4 separate regions of the Homo sapiens genome follow, and regions 2, 3 and 4 are each linked to region 1. Evidence: promoter capture Hi-C in human tissues and cell types (Jung and others, 2019). All regions are on one chromosome and are shown on one strand. Each heading gives the region's core, a stretch centred on a gene start or on the middle of the fragment in contact. The rest is flanking DNA. Distances are from core to core; before and after follow the strand shown.

What was found. The method cuts DNA at HindIII sites, captures the fragments that hold promoters and counts their contacts. A contact is called where the count stands out against the background at its distance.
Region 2: a fragment that was not itself captured here is called in contact with the fragment with the promoter of TGM6 in region 1 in 3 of the 25 tissues and cell types used here (IMR-90 fibroblasts, dorsolateral prefrontal cortex and lymphoblastoid cells).
Region 3: a contact is called between a fragment that was not itself captured here and the fragment with the promoter of TGM6 in region 1, in 1 of the 25 tissues and cell types used here (hippocampus).
Region 4: a contact is called between a fragment that was not itself captured here and the fragment with the promoter of TGM6 in region 1, in 1 of the 25 tissues and cell types used here (mesendoderm cells).

What each region holds. Positions count from the first base shown.
Region 1 is chr20:2,379,435-2,382,336 of GRCh38, forward strand. It overlaps TGM6 (transglutaminase 6), which reads left to right and starts at 1,467. Exons shown (of 13, transcript NM_198994.3): 1 at 1,467-1,541. The coding sequence starts at 1,535. The HindIII fragment of the contact is 30,296 bases long and covers 1-2,902 here.
Region 2 is chr20:1,957,286-1,960,187 of GRCh38, forward strand. All of the region lies in intron 2 of PDYN-AS1 (PDYN antisense RNA 1), which reads left to right. Among named protein-coding and RNA genes, the nearest start is that of PDYN-AS1, 12 kb to the left of the region's middle. The HindIII fragment of the contact is 7,949 bases long and covers 1-2,902 here.
Region 3 is chr20:2,090,263-2,093,164 of GRCh38, forward strand. No RefSeq gene overlaps it. Among named protein-coding and RNA genes, the nearest start is that of STK35, 10 kb to the right of the region's middle. The HindIII fragment of the contact is 4,435 bases long and covers 1-2,902 here.
Region 4 is chr20:2,643,618-2,646,519 of GRCh38, forward strand. It overlaps LOC105372505 (a long non-coding RNA gene), which reads right to left. Exons shown (of 5, transcript XR_007067502.1): 2 at 111-764. Among named protein-coding and RNA genes, the nearest start is that of NOP56, 7.6 kb to the right of the region's middle. The HindIII fragment of the contact is 9,020 bases long and covers 1-2,902 here.

The sequences.
Region 1 (2,902 bases), core at 217-2,716:
AAAAAAACGAGGAGTATGAATTATTATTTGGGGTCTCGAGCAGTGGGGCAGGCAGTGATTTTGATGCCCTGTCTTCTGGGAGCTCCCGTCCAAGCAAGCCCAGGATGAAAGATAAAAGGGCCCTGAATAAGACCATCATTAGTGGGGAGGAGCCTGACCCTGCATAGGCAGAAAAGCAGCTTCAGCAGGGCCCAGGGTCTACAGGGCAGCAGCCTGCAGGGTGTTGAGGAAGGAGCTGCCCTGGGCTGCTGCCAGATGTCAGTAATTATAAGGCTATGTGGGTCTGCAGACAGCTCATTAAAGACGCTTGATCTGCGTGAAACCAGGAAGCAGAACTCAGCCTCTTTGCCACTTTCTGTAAGAAATCCAACCACATCAAACACTTTGGGGTTTTTATGCAGTTTCCTGAATGTTGGGGTGATCCCAGGGAGCGGCCTCATCCTACTGTGCTCAGCACACGGTTGTCTCCTTACCCTTCCTTGTCTCTTTCCCTCGATTCTACCCCCTCCCACTTCCCCTTCCTCACTGGCCCAGGCCACATCCAGCCTTCGATAGCCCCAAGTCATCCATCAAAGCATTTCTCCGGCAAAAAGAAACCTACCCCACCGGCTTCCATGAAAATAAAATCCCCTCTATTTCATTAACAAAAGACCTCAGATGCCTTGAATTCCAGCACCTTCAAGCCCAGAATCTTAGACTTTGAGCTGGAATGGCCCTGAAGAATAATTGAGTCCAATCCCTTTAGTTTGTAGGTAGAAACACCAGGGTTCCAGGAGGGGAGAGGTCTTGTCCAAGGTCACGGGACACCCATGGCCACCAGGCCTCTAAGCTCCTGGCTGGAGGCCACTCACAAAGTCAGGGCAGATGGGCCTAGCTTCTGAGTCAGAACCAGCTCTCCCCTTTTTCTTATCTACCTCCTCTCAAGAGTCTAGTGTCCACCAAGGAAGTCTAGTGGCCCTGAAGGAGGATCATGGACCTCTGCCTCTTTAGATGCCTGCAGAACAGAGTGGAGCTGTGGGCCCAGGAGTCTTCTGCTCTCACCCAGGAGGGGAGAGGGAGCCACAGACTGACCCGGCACTGCAGCGTGCAACCATGTACTTCGGGGTCCTGGCGCTGAGCCTGTTTTTTCTCATTTGAGGGTTGTTGTGAGGGCTAAGAATGGCCAACCATAAATCCGAGTTCCCTCAGTCTTCTCTCTTTCCCCGTTCTTTTTCTTGCCAGGCTTGTGACCTTTCTGAGCCTCAGTTTCTCCACAGTCCCATTCGCAACTCCGTGTTTCCAAGGTCTCTTGGCAGGAGCCACTCCCACAGTGAACCCCTCTAGGTGCAATTACAGGATGATTTTGTGTCTCGTGGGTGTCGCTGCTAGGGTGGAGGGCCACGCCTCCTCTTTTGAATTCTGACTTTCCTGCCTAGGAGTGTCCCAAGGTTTTCCTTGTTAAAATTGGTCTGGCTGGCTGCTGTGACGCGCCACACTGTCCTGACGGTGCACACACTGCTGTGTGGAGGAACAGAGGAGTCCAGCTGGCCTTCACATGGCAGGTAAGTGGGCAGAGCCTGGGGCCTTGGGACACCAGGGCTCATGAGGGGGGCTTCAAGAAACACGGGTCTGTGGGATGACGTTTGATCATCGATTGTTAGGATTTTACAGCTGGATAGTCCACCATGAACACATGAACTCTTCGTGTGGATTCATGAGGCCCAGGATGAAAAAGCCAGCTTTAAGCCACCCAGCAAGGCCATGGCCCAGGCTGGCTCAGGCGCTGTCTCCTGGGCTGGGGCCAGGTCTCACCCCTGTGCCTCGGAGGACTGAAGGAGGCAGGCACAGGAAGGCAGGGGCAGAAAAAAGAAAATCTCCTTGCACCCCATGCACATTCCATGGATCCAGAGACGTTTCTGGGCATAGTTGGGAATTGTGGCCTGCGTGGGAAGGAGTGAGAGGCCCCCACCGGCTGCATCCTCGCCTGATTCCCACCCCAAGCACTTGAGGGCAAGAGCAGCTCTGGCTCAAGTGAAAACAGCTATATGACCTTGAGCAAGAAAATTTGCCCTTGGTACCTCTGTTTTCTGATCTGTGTAATGGGGATTATAATGCAAATTATCTCACAGCCTTGCTGTGAGGAGTTGGTGAGACCACGTGTGCTGTTCTCCCACCACACATCTCAAGTGGGGACTTGTAAACAGTAGACTCAGAAAATGTGGGTCGGGCACAGTGGCTCACGCCTCTAATCCCAGCATTTTGGGAGGCTGAAGGGGGTGGAATTCTTGAGCTCAGGAGTTTGAGACCAGCCTGGGCAATGTGGCAAAACCCCGTCTCTACAAAAAAATACAACAATTAGCTAGGCATGGTGGGGAACACCCAAAGTCCCAGCTACTTGGGAGGCTGAGGTGAGAGGATCGCTTGAGCTTAGGAGGTAGAGGCTACAGTGAGCCAAGATGGTGCCACTGCACTGCAGGCTGGGCAACAGAGTGAGACCCTGTCTCAAAAAAAAAAGAAAGTAAGATAATGTGTCCCCCACGACCTCAATATAGTGAGCAGCAAACTCCCTCTGCAAGAACTTGTCTTAGATGCTGGGGCCCGGTAATGAGCAAGTCAGCAGAACCAGGGGTCCTACACTCACAGGTATTCAAGGGGTGTTTCTGAGTCTGTGTCTGCCAGTTTTAATTGTTCAGCATTATGTGACAGTTTTATGAATCAAATATTTTTTTAACTTTCAAAGGCAGATATTTGAATTTCCTCATCATAGTCTAGCTTCCTCTTCATATTTCCTCCTGGCAGTTAACAGCATTGCTGGACGTGTTGGGCCCTTCAGGCTCCTAGGATAGGTCTGTTCTGAAGACCAGGCCTTGCCAACACCAGCTCACAGCCCAGACTGCCTGTTTCCAGAGCTGGGGTTGCCTCC
Region 2 (2,902 bases), core at 142-2,641, 420 kb before region 1:
AAACAGAAGGAGAGAAGTTATTTGTTCCACAAAAATTCTCTCAACATCTCTTACAGGTCAGGCCCTCTGCTAAACTTAGAGGATGCAAAGACAAGGAAGTCTCAAAGTGCAGGGTGGTGGGGTGGGAGAATACACACAAAATAATGTGAAATATAACAGTGCAAATGAAAACAATGGGGTAGGAATCTAATGAAGGAAATGATGGTATCTTTGAAGTCAGAGAGGACCTGGGTTCAAATCCTGTTTCTTTCAACTCCTAGCTTTGGACAGTAATATGCAAAGACTATTTTTAGGCTTAAACTAGTTAAAATGACAGGTAAAAAATACCTGGAAACAAGTAAAGTTTCCTGTTTCCAGGATTCTCACAATTGCAGCCCAAGGGCCAAATATGGCATATAGAAGGTCTTGTTTGGTGCATCCAGTATTTTTGAAAAAAAAATTTAGTAGAGGAATTAGGATGGCTTAGACCAATAGATCCTGGTTGCCCAACTTAAACCCCTGGAAATATATTTGTTCCTCTAGAAGAGATCTGGGTTCATTCACTGACTTCTCCTTCTGGTCAAGGTGGAATAACAGAGAATGGGTTTATCCTCTTAGCTGAAACAAAAAAATCTGGGGAAAACATATGAATCAACAGTTTTCAAGACATTGGACATCAGGCAACACAGAACCGTGATCCCTGAGAGAGAGAAAACAAAAGAGAGCCTAGCAATTGCCTCTGCTTACTATCTGGAGAGAGTTTTCAGGCCACGGCACAGGACAGGGAGTCCAGGTAGGGCCCGGGGGTCTTCCTGAGTTGAAGAGATGGAGCTGGGTGGCTGCTATGGTTAGAATGTTTTTGTCCCCTGTAAAAAATTATGTTGAGGCTGGATACAGTGGCTCACGCCCTTAATCCCAACACTTTGGGAGGCCAAGGCAGGAGGATTGCTTGAGGCCAGGCGTTCAAAATAAGCCTGTACAACATAGTGAGACCCCATCTCTACAAAATAAAATTTTTTTAAATAGCCAGGCATGGTGATGCACACCTGTAGTCCCAGCTACTCAGGAGGCTGAGGTGGGAGGAACACTTGAGTCTAGGAGACTAAGGCTGCAATGAGGCATGGTTATACCGCTGCACTCCAGCCTGGTTAACAGAGCAAAACCCTATCTCCAAAAAAAAAAAAAAATTAAATTTATGTTGAAACCTAACCCCTAATGCAATAGTGTTGGGAGATGGGGCCTTTTGGAAGGTGTTTAGTCATGAGGACTCTGCCCTCATGAATGGATTAATGTTGTTATAAAAGGGCTTCATGAAGGTAGTCTATCCTTTTGCCCTTCTGCCCTCTGCCATATAAGGACATGGCATTTCTCCCCTCTGGAGGACACAGCATTGAAGGCGTCATCTTGGAAGCAGAGAACAGCTCTCACTAGACATCCAACACTGGCATCTTGATCTTGAACTTCCCAGCCTCTAGAACCATGAGAAATAAATTTCTGTTCTTTATAAATTACCCAGACTTGGGTATTTTTGTTGTAGCAATGCAAACGCATTAATCCAGAGGCCAAGGTGTCTGGAGTTCACAGGGCAGAGTATCACTGAGAAGAGAGCTTGTGGGGAGGAGCAGGTTCAAGAGCACAGGTGACCTCTGGCGATCAGCAGAGAGCCCCTCCTGTCTTCTGAGTACTAATGAGCATGTGCATGTATGAAACCTACCTGAGGAGCAAAGAACCACCTGATTAGATTAGAGGGAACAACCCCAGGTTCCCCCACAGGGCTGGGAATAGTCTCTGTTCTTAGGAGCCAGAGTGAAAAATCTCACAGGGCTTTAGGCAGAGGATTCACAAGGTTTCTTCCTTAGTAGCTGGACAAAATTTGCTCTAAACATGGATATGGTTCCATCTAAAAATGTTTAAAAGCAAAGATTAAACTAATTCCAAGGAACTTGACTGTGTCCCAGAAAAAAAAAAATCAAACATATTTATAGAAACACACACAAAAAAACCTAGCACATGATGATGTAAATTCAGTGTCTGGTATCCATTAAAAAAATTGCCAGGCATGCAAAGAAGCAAGGAAATTCAATCCATTAATGAGGAGAAAATTTGATCATTGGAAACTGACCCGGAAATGACACAAATGATAGAACTGATAAATAAAGACATTAAAACCATGATTATAGCTGTATTTCATAGGTTCAGGAAACTAGAGGAAGGACTGAGTTACTAAATTGTGATATGGAAGACAGCAAAAAGGCTCGTATAAAAAAGATTAGTGAAATTAAATATATAGCAAGAGAAACTATCCAGAATGAACCATAGAGAAAAAAAAGACTGAAAAAAAAAAATGAACAGAGTATCAGCAAAATGTGGGACAACTTCCAGTATAATATACATATACACACAACACACAACACACACACCCTCACACATAGGTATGTGTATAAGCAGATAGACATATTTATAAGCAGATAAATATATACATATGTGTATATATGTGTGTGTATATATAGATCAAATATATATATATATATATATGAGAGAGCTTGAAGGAGAAATAATGGTTGAAAATTTGCCAAATTTGATGTAAACAAAATTCACAGACTGAAGAAACCCAGTGAACCCCAAGCACATTAATTCATCACAGTCTCTACCTTCTACTTCCGACTGATATTATACCACTTTGCCTTACGAGATTATACTTGAGACTCTCACAACATTAAGCAAATGACACCAAGGGCCATTATAATCAAATTACTCAAAACTAGACATAAACTAAAAACCTTAAAGGCAGCCAGAAAATAAAAAACCCAGGTTATATATACACATGAACAAATATAAGGCCGGCATCAGATTTCTCAAAAGAAACAATGCAAGTAAGAAGACAGTAGAGTAGCATCCTTAAAATGCTCAGAGAAAAATAAAG
Region 3 (2,902 bases), core at 127-2,626, 290 kb before region 1:
TCGACATGGATGTAAGTCATTACACTGGGGACTGACCTCACACACTTTATAAAGATGTAAGCCTTAAGAAAGAGCACTTTTAAAAGCAATACATAAAATGTTTGGATGTTGTGATCACAAATATAAACCAATGGGAGAAATGGAAAAACAATCTGTCCTAAGATTTAGTGCACTGGGAATTCTAAGATAAAATATTTCAGAGAAAGCATCATATAGAGGCTCAAAAAGTACTGGATCACAATTTGGATAGGAGTGAAAATTATGTGACCTAGAAAGAAGGCTGAGCGACATAGAAATCATCCCCAGTGACTGAGATCAAAGGTGCTCAGAAAGAGATGAAAAGAATTGTTTTGTGAAATGGAAGAATGGGAGAAAATCCAATATTTCTCAATGTTGAAAGTGTGTATGTACCTAAAATAATAAATTAAATATTACACAGATATTTGATTATTTATACCACCTTAAGAATTTATATATTCAAGTTGAGACCCCAAATATTTTCTCTTCTGCAATCTTCTTAGTGTGACAAGTGAGAGGGACACCTTACATTTTGGGCCACCCTATGTTGAGACATGTCTAATAGGTGAAAGCACTTTAAATCCCACAAAGCTTTGTATGATTTGTGACAAGTACTGTTATGGTGGTTAATACTATTTTTATTATGACTTTTCTACCACAGGGTGGACTCTTTGGCTATGCTCCTCTAAGCACTTCTCCAGGTGGGACTCCCCTGAACTATTTCCAAGTTGTGGGAATTTTTTTTTTTTTTTTTTTTTTTGAGACGGAGTCTTGCTCTGTCGCCCAGGCTGGCTGGAGTGCAGTGGTACGATCTCAGCTCACTGCAACCTCCACCTCCTGGGTTCAAGCCATTCTCCTGCCTCAGCCTCCCAGGTAGCTGGGATTACAGGCATGCACCACAATGGCTGGCTAATTTTTGTATTTTTAGTAGAGATGGGGTTTCACCATGTTGGCCAGGCTGGTCTCGAACTCCTGACCTCAGGTCATCCACCTGCCTCAGCCTCCCAAAGCGCTGGGATTACAGGCATGAGCCACCGTGCCCGGCTAATTTCCTAGCTGTATGATCTTAAGCAAGCTGCATAACTTGTCTGTGTCTCTGTTTCCTCATCTGTCAAGTAGAGATAATAACAGGATTGAGAATTCAATAAATTATTATATTGAGAAGTGTTTATAACAGTGTCTGGTAAATGCTTCTTAAATGTTAGTTATTATTTTCAGCAAGGGAGAACTTAACTGTTTGTAAACACATCAGTTTTCTTCACCATATGATGAGATTTTACCACCAGGGACCCTGTCTTATTCATCCCAGGATCCCCAACTCAAACACGGGGGCTAACATATAGTAAATGTTTGCTGAACCTACAATAATTTCTATAAAGAAAGAAAGGTAGTATATAAAGTCCAGAGCCCAACACAGACCCTGGTTCCCATTAGTTGAAAGAGGCACACCGTGAGTGTTGATAACTGGCTCAGCCTCATTTCTCACTGACCAACCAAACTCTAAAACAGCATCACAGTGCGATAGAGCTGGAAAAGACTCAAGACTGGATGTTTCTTCGTGTCTTCTCTAAACAATGAGTTCCTCTACAATAGGAACTGAGTTCAATTCATCTCAGTCCCCAGTCTGGCAAACAGTAGGGGCTTAATAAGTACTCATTGACCAAATGAGTGATGAAGTACATTCTACACTATTGTACGTTACTTGTTTTTTAAACTGAATTTTATTTTTTTAAATACCTACAAAAAAGAACTCAAATTAATACCCAAATATGCACATAAAAACTTCAAATCATACAAAATTATCCTGAAAGTGAAAGAATCACCTAGGGAGAATTCTTGGCATCTAGAGTATTATTTATACAAATGTTTCCATTATGTATACAGAAATTAACATGTAAGTACAAACGCTGTATCATGTGCTAGTTCAAGATCAAGAGCTTTGGAATCAGATACACCAGGGTTGGAATCCAAGTTCCATCGCTTTTTAGTGGTATAGCCTTGAAAAAGTAATAACCTCTTTGTGCCTCAGTTTCTATGGAAAATAGAGCTAAAAATAAAACCTACCCTAAGGCTTATTGGATTAATTAATTAATTATTACATATGAGCACTTAGAACCATCAGAATACACAGAAGTAACTCAATGAAGGTTAGCAATTATGTATACATGTTTAAACAAAATGTGGTCATATTATAGATGCTTGTTTGCATTTGCTTTTTTATGTAACAAAATATTGTGTACATGTATTGTATGGTAGTACATACAGAGCTAACTCCTTCTTTTGATGGGCATGTATTTAAATATATGATGACCCTGTGTAACCAAGCCTCTACTTTTGGTATTGTTTCTAATATTTTATTATTATTTTATATATATATATATATATATCTCACCACAATAAAATCCTTGTTGCACATATATTTTTCCACACCATGTGAGTACTTCTATAGGATAAATTCCTAGAAACGGAATAGCTGATCAAAGTGTATTAATTTTTAATTATATTAATAAACAATGAGTTATCAATTTGCCTTTCTAAAAGACTGTATCACTTTACATTTTGATTAGTGAGTGTACTTTGTTGCCTTATGGTTGTGTACATTTTAACCAGACGCCCCAATAATTTATTTTGAATGTCCCAGTAGTTACAGAATTAAGGACTTTGCCCTGCTCATTTGGCATTATAGCCCTTTATCTTTCCAAAAATCATAAACAACTCCTAAGAACTTAGCAACCAATTTCCTGCAGCAAATATTCAGATACATAGCCTGACAAAAATTTGTATGCCATTCCCAAATGGGAGAGGAAGAAATGTCAGACATTTCTTAGCCTTTTCAGTGGCCAGTAGGAAGAACACTTGAAATTAGACCCATCTATTAAGTTTT
Region 4 (2,902 bases), core at 192-2,691, 260 kb after region 1:
GCTTAACTAGGCAGATGTGGTTCCGGATATTTCAGTCAAATTCTCAGCTAGGGCTACAATTATTGGAAGGTCTGACTGGGACTGAAAGATCTGCTCTCAACATGGCTCACACGTGACTGTTGGCAGGAGGCTTCTGTTCCTTGCTGGCTATTGATAGGGGACCTTGGTTACTCTCCATGTAGGCCTCTCCATAGAGCTGCTTGGGTGTCCTCACAACATGGCTGCTGGTTTCCCCCAGAGCAAGTGATCTGAGAGGGAGAGCAAGGAGGAAGCCACAATGCCTATTATGACCTAGTCTCAGAAGTCACACTATCAGTTCCACCACTTTTACTCATAGAACTGAGTCACTAAGTCTAGCTCACACTGGAAGGGAAGGGATTTAGGCTTCACTTCTTGAAGGGAGGGTTACCAAAGAATTTGTGGACATATTTTAACAGAAAATTTTCTAATTCAAATAATTACAAGACCTCTATCAAGACAACTCTGGCCAGGCGTGGTGGCTCATGCCTGTAATCCCAGCACTTTGGGAGGCCGAGGTGGGTGGATCACTTGAGGTCAGAAGTTTGAGACCAGCCTGGCCAACATGGTGAAACCTCGTCTCTACTAAAAATACAAAAATTAACCAGGTGTGGTGGTGCGCTTCTGTAATCCCAGCTACTTGGGAGGCTGAGGCAGGAGAATCGCTTGAACCCAGGAGGCGGAGGTTGCAGTGAGCCGAGATTGTACCACTGTACTCCAGCTTGGGTGACAGAGCAAGACTCCGTCTGAAAAGAAAAGAAAAAAAAGAAAGAAGAAAATTAACCATTTATCCAGAGAAATATAACTGGTGTCCTGCTGATATTACCCTAGTTTGGCTGCGCATTCCTAACTGGAGAGAAATGGAGCAGATGCTGGATTTTATCTGTTGGAAGCTATTTTTGTAGGCTGATCCTTTCACTTCTAATAACTTCAACTTCCATTTCTATTTCCTAAGAGCTCCATAGTACACAGAATCACATAAGTAGGAAGACACTTTAGATGAAGAAGATCAAAGGGGATACCTGGTCTCCCACTGATTTGCACACTCGCAGAAACTAAGGGGAGGGGCTGATGCACCAGCCAGTAAGGTGATCTGGGCAGGTTACCAATAGCACTCACTATGGTGGTAACGCTCAGCTCAGTAAAGTCACTTCAGACGTGCTCTGAAGTGGGTGGGTAGAGACCCACCCAAAGCTGGAGCACCAAGTTCCTCATGCTCAATAATGGACAATAAAAAATAAACCCGCCATGCAGAAAGAGACATGTATTTCTCTTGACCTTGGCAGAAAGTAGAGGAGAAAAAGTCTCCATTGAGAAGTTCTAGCCACAAGGCAGCTCTCACAGAGAGGCTCTAAATTCATATGCTACAGTTGACCCTTGAACAACACTGGGTCTAGGAGTGCTGACCCCCCTGCAGTCAAAAACCCATGTATAGCTTTTGACTTCCCCAGAAGTTAACTAATGGTAGTCTGCTGTTGAATGGAAGTTTTACTGATAACATAAAGTCAGTTAACACAAATTTTATATGTTACATGTATTAATACTGTATTCTTGCAATAGAATAAGCTAGCTAGGAAAAAATGTTATTAAGAAGATCATGAAGAGGAGAAAATATATTTAATATTCATCAAGCAAAAGTGGATCATCGTAAGTCTTCATCCTTGTCATCTTCATGCTGAGTAGGCTGAGGAGGAGGAGGAGGAGGAAGAAAAGGGGTCGGTCTTGCTGTCTTAGGGGTGGCAGAGATGGAAGAAAATCACATATAAGTGGATCTGTGAAGTTCAAACCCATGTTGTTCAAGGGTCAACTGTATCTGTATGTTCCAAAAAACTCAAATGAAAATTTTAATTTATTTTTTTCAAGACTTTCAGGCCAGGCGTGATGGCTCACACCTGTAATCCCAGCACTTTGGAAGGCCAAGACGGGTGGATCACAAGGTCAAGAGGCCGAGACCATCCTGTCCAACATGGTGAAACCCCGTCTCTACCAAAAATTCAAAAATCAGCTGGGCATGTTGGCTCATGCCTGTAATCCCAGCCACTCGAGAGGCTGAGGCAGGAGAATCGCTTGAACCCGGGAGGCGGAGGTTGTGGTGAGCCGAGATTGTACCATTGCACTCCAGTCTGGGCAACAAGAGCAAAACCCCATCTCAGAAAAGAAAAAAAAAAGTGGCATTAGGTTGATAGTGCCTCCAAAACAGGAAGAAAAAAGGCAAATAAACAAAAATAGCACAACAAATAAAATATAAAGCACATAAGACGAAAGAAATAAACCAAAATATATCAGGAATCAAAATAAATGCAAACGGACTAAACTTCTAGATAGAAGGCAAAGACTATCTGATGGAGATTTTAAAATCCTATAAGCTGTTCCCAAGAGATGACTTTAAAACTAAGGATAGAGGCCAGGCATGGTGGCTCATGCCTGTAATCCTAGCATTTTGGAGGCTGAGGCAAGTGGATTGCTTGAGCCCAGGAGTTCGAGACCAGCCTGGGCAAAATGGTGATACCCCATTTCTACAAAAAATACAAAAATTAGCCAGTGCATGCCTGTAGTTCCAACTACTCGGAAGGCTGAGATGGAAAGGATCGCTTGAGCCCAGGAGTCAGAGGTTGCAGTGAGCCGAGACCACACCACTGCACTACAGCCTGGGTGACAAAGTGAGGGACCCTGTCTCAAAAACAAAAATAAGATAGGAACTTTATCCCTTTTGATTCCTAGGGAATAAAAACTGAAGTATAATTTTCAATGGCAAAATCACCAGGTGTGTGAGTACCATCAAATATTCTAAGCAGGTTTGTTTATAGAGTGTGAGGATTGCTATTAAAGACAACTGTCTGCAGTGTTGTGCCAGATACTTTATCTTTCAATATAGTATTAGCTT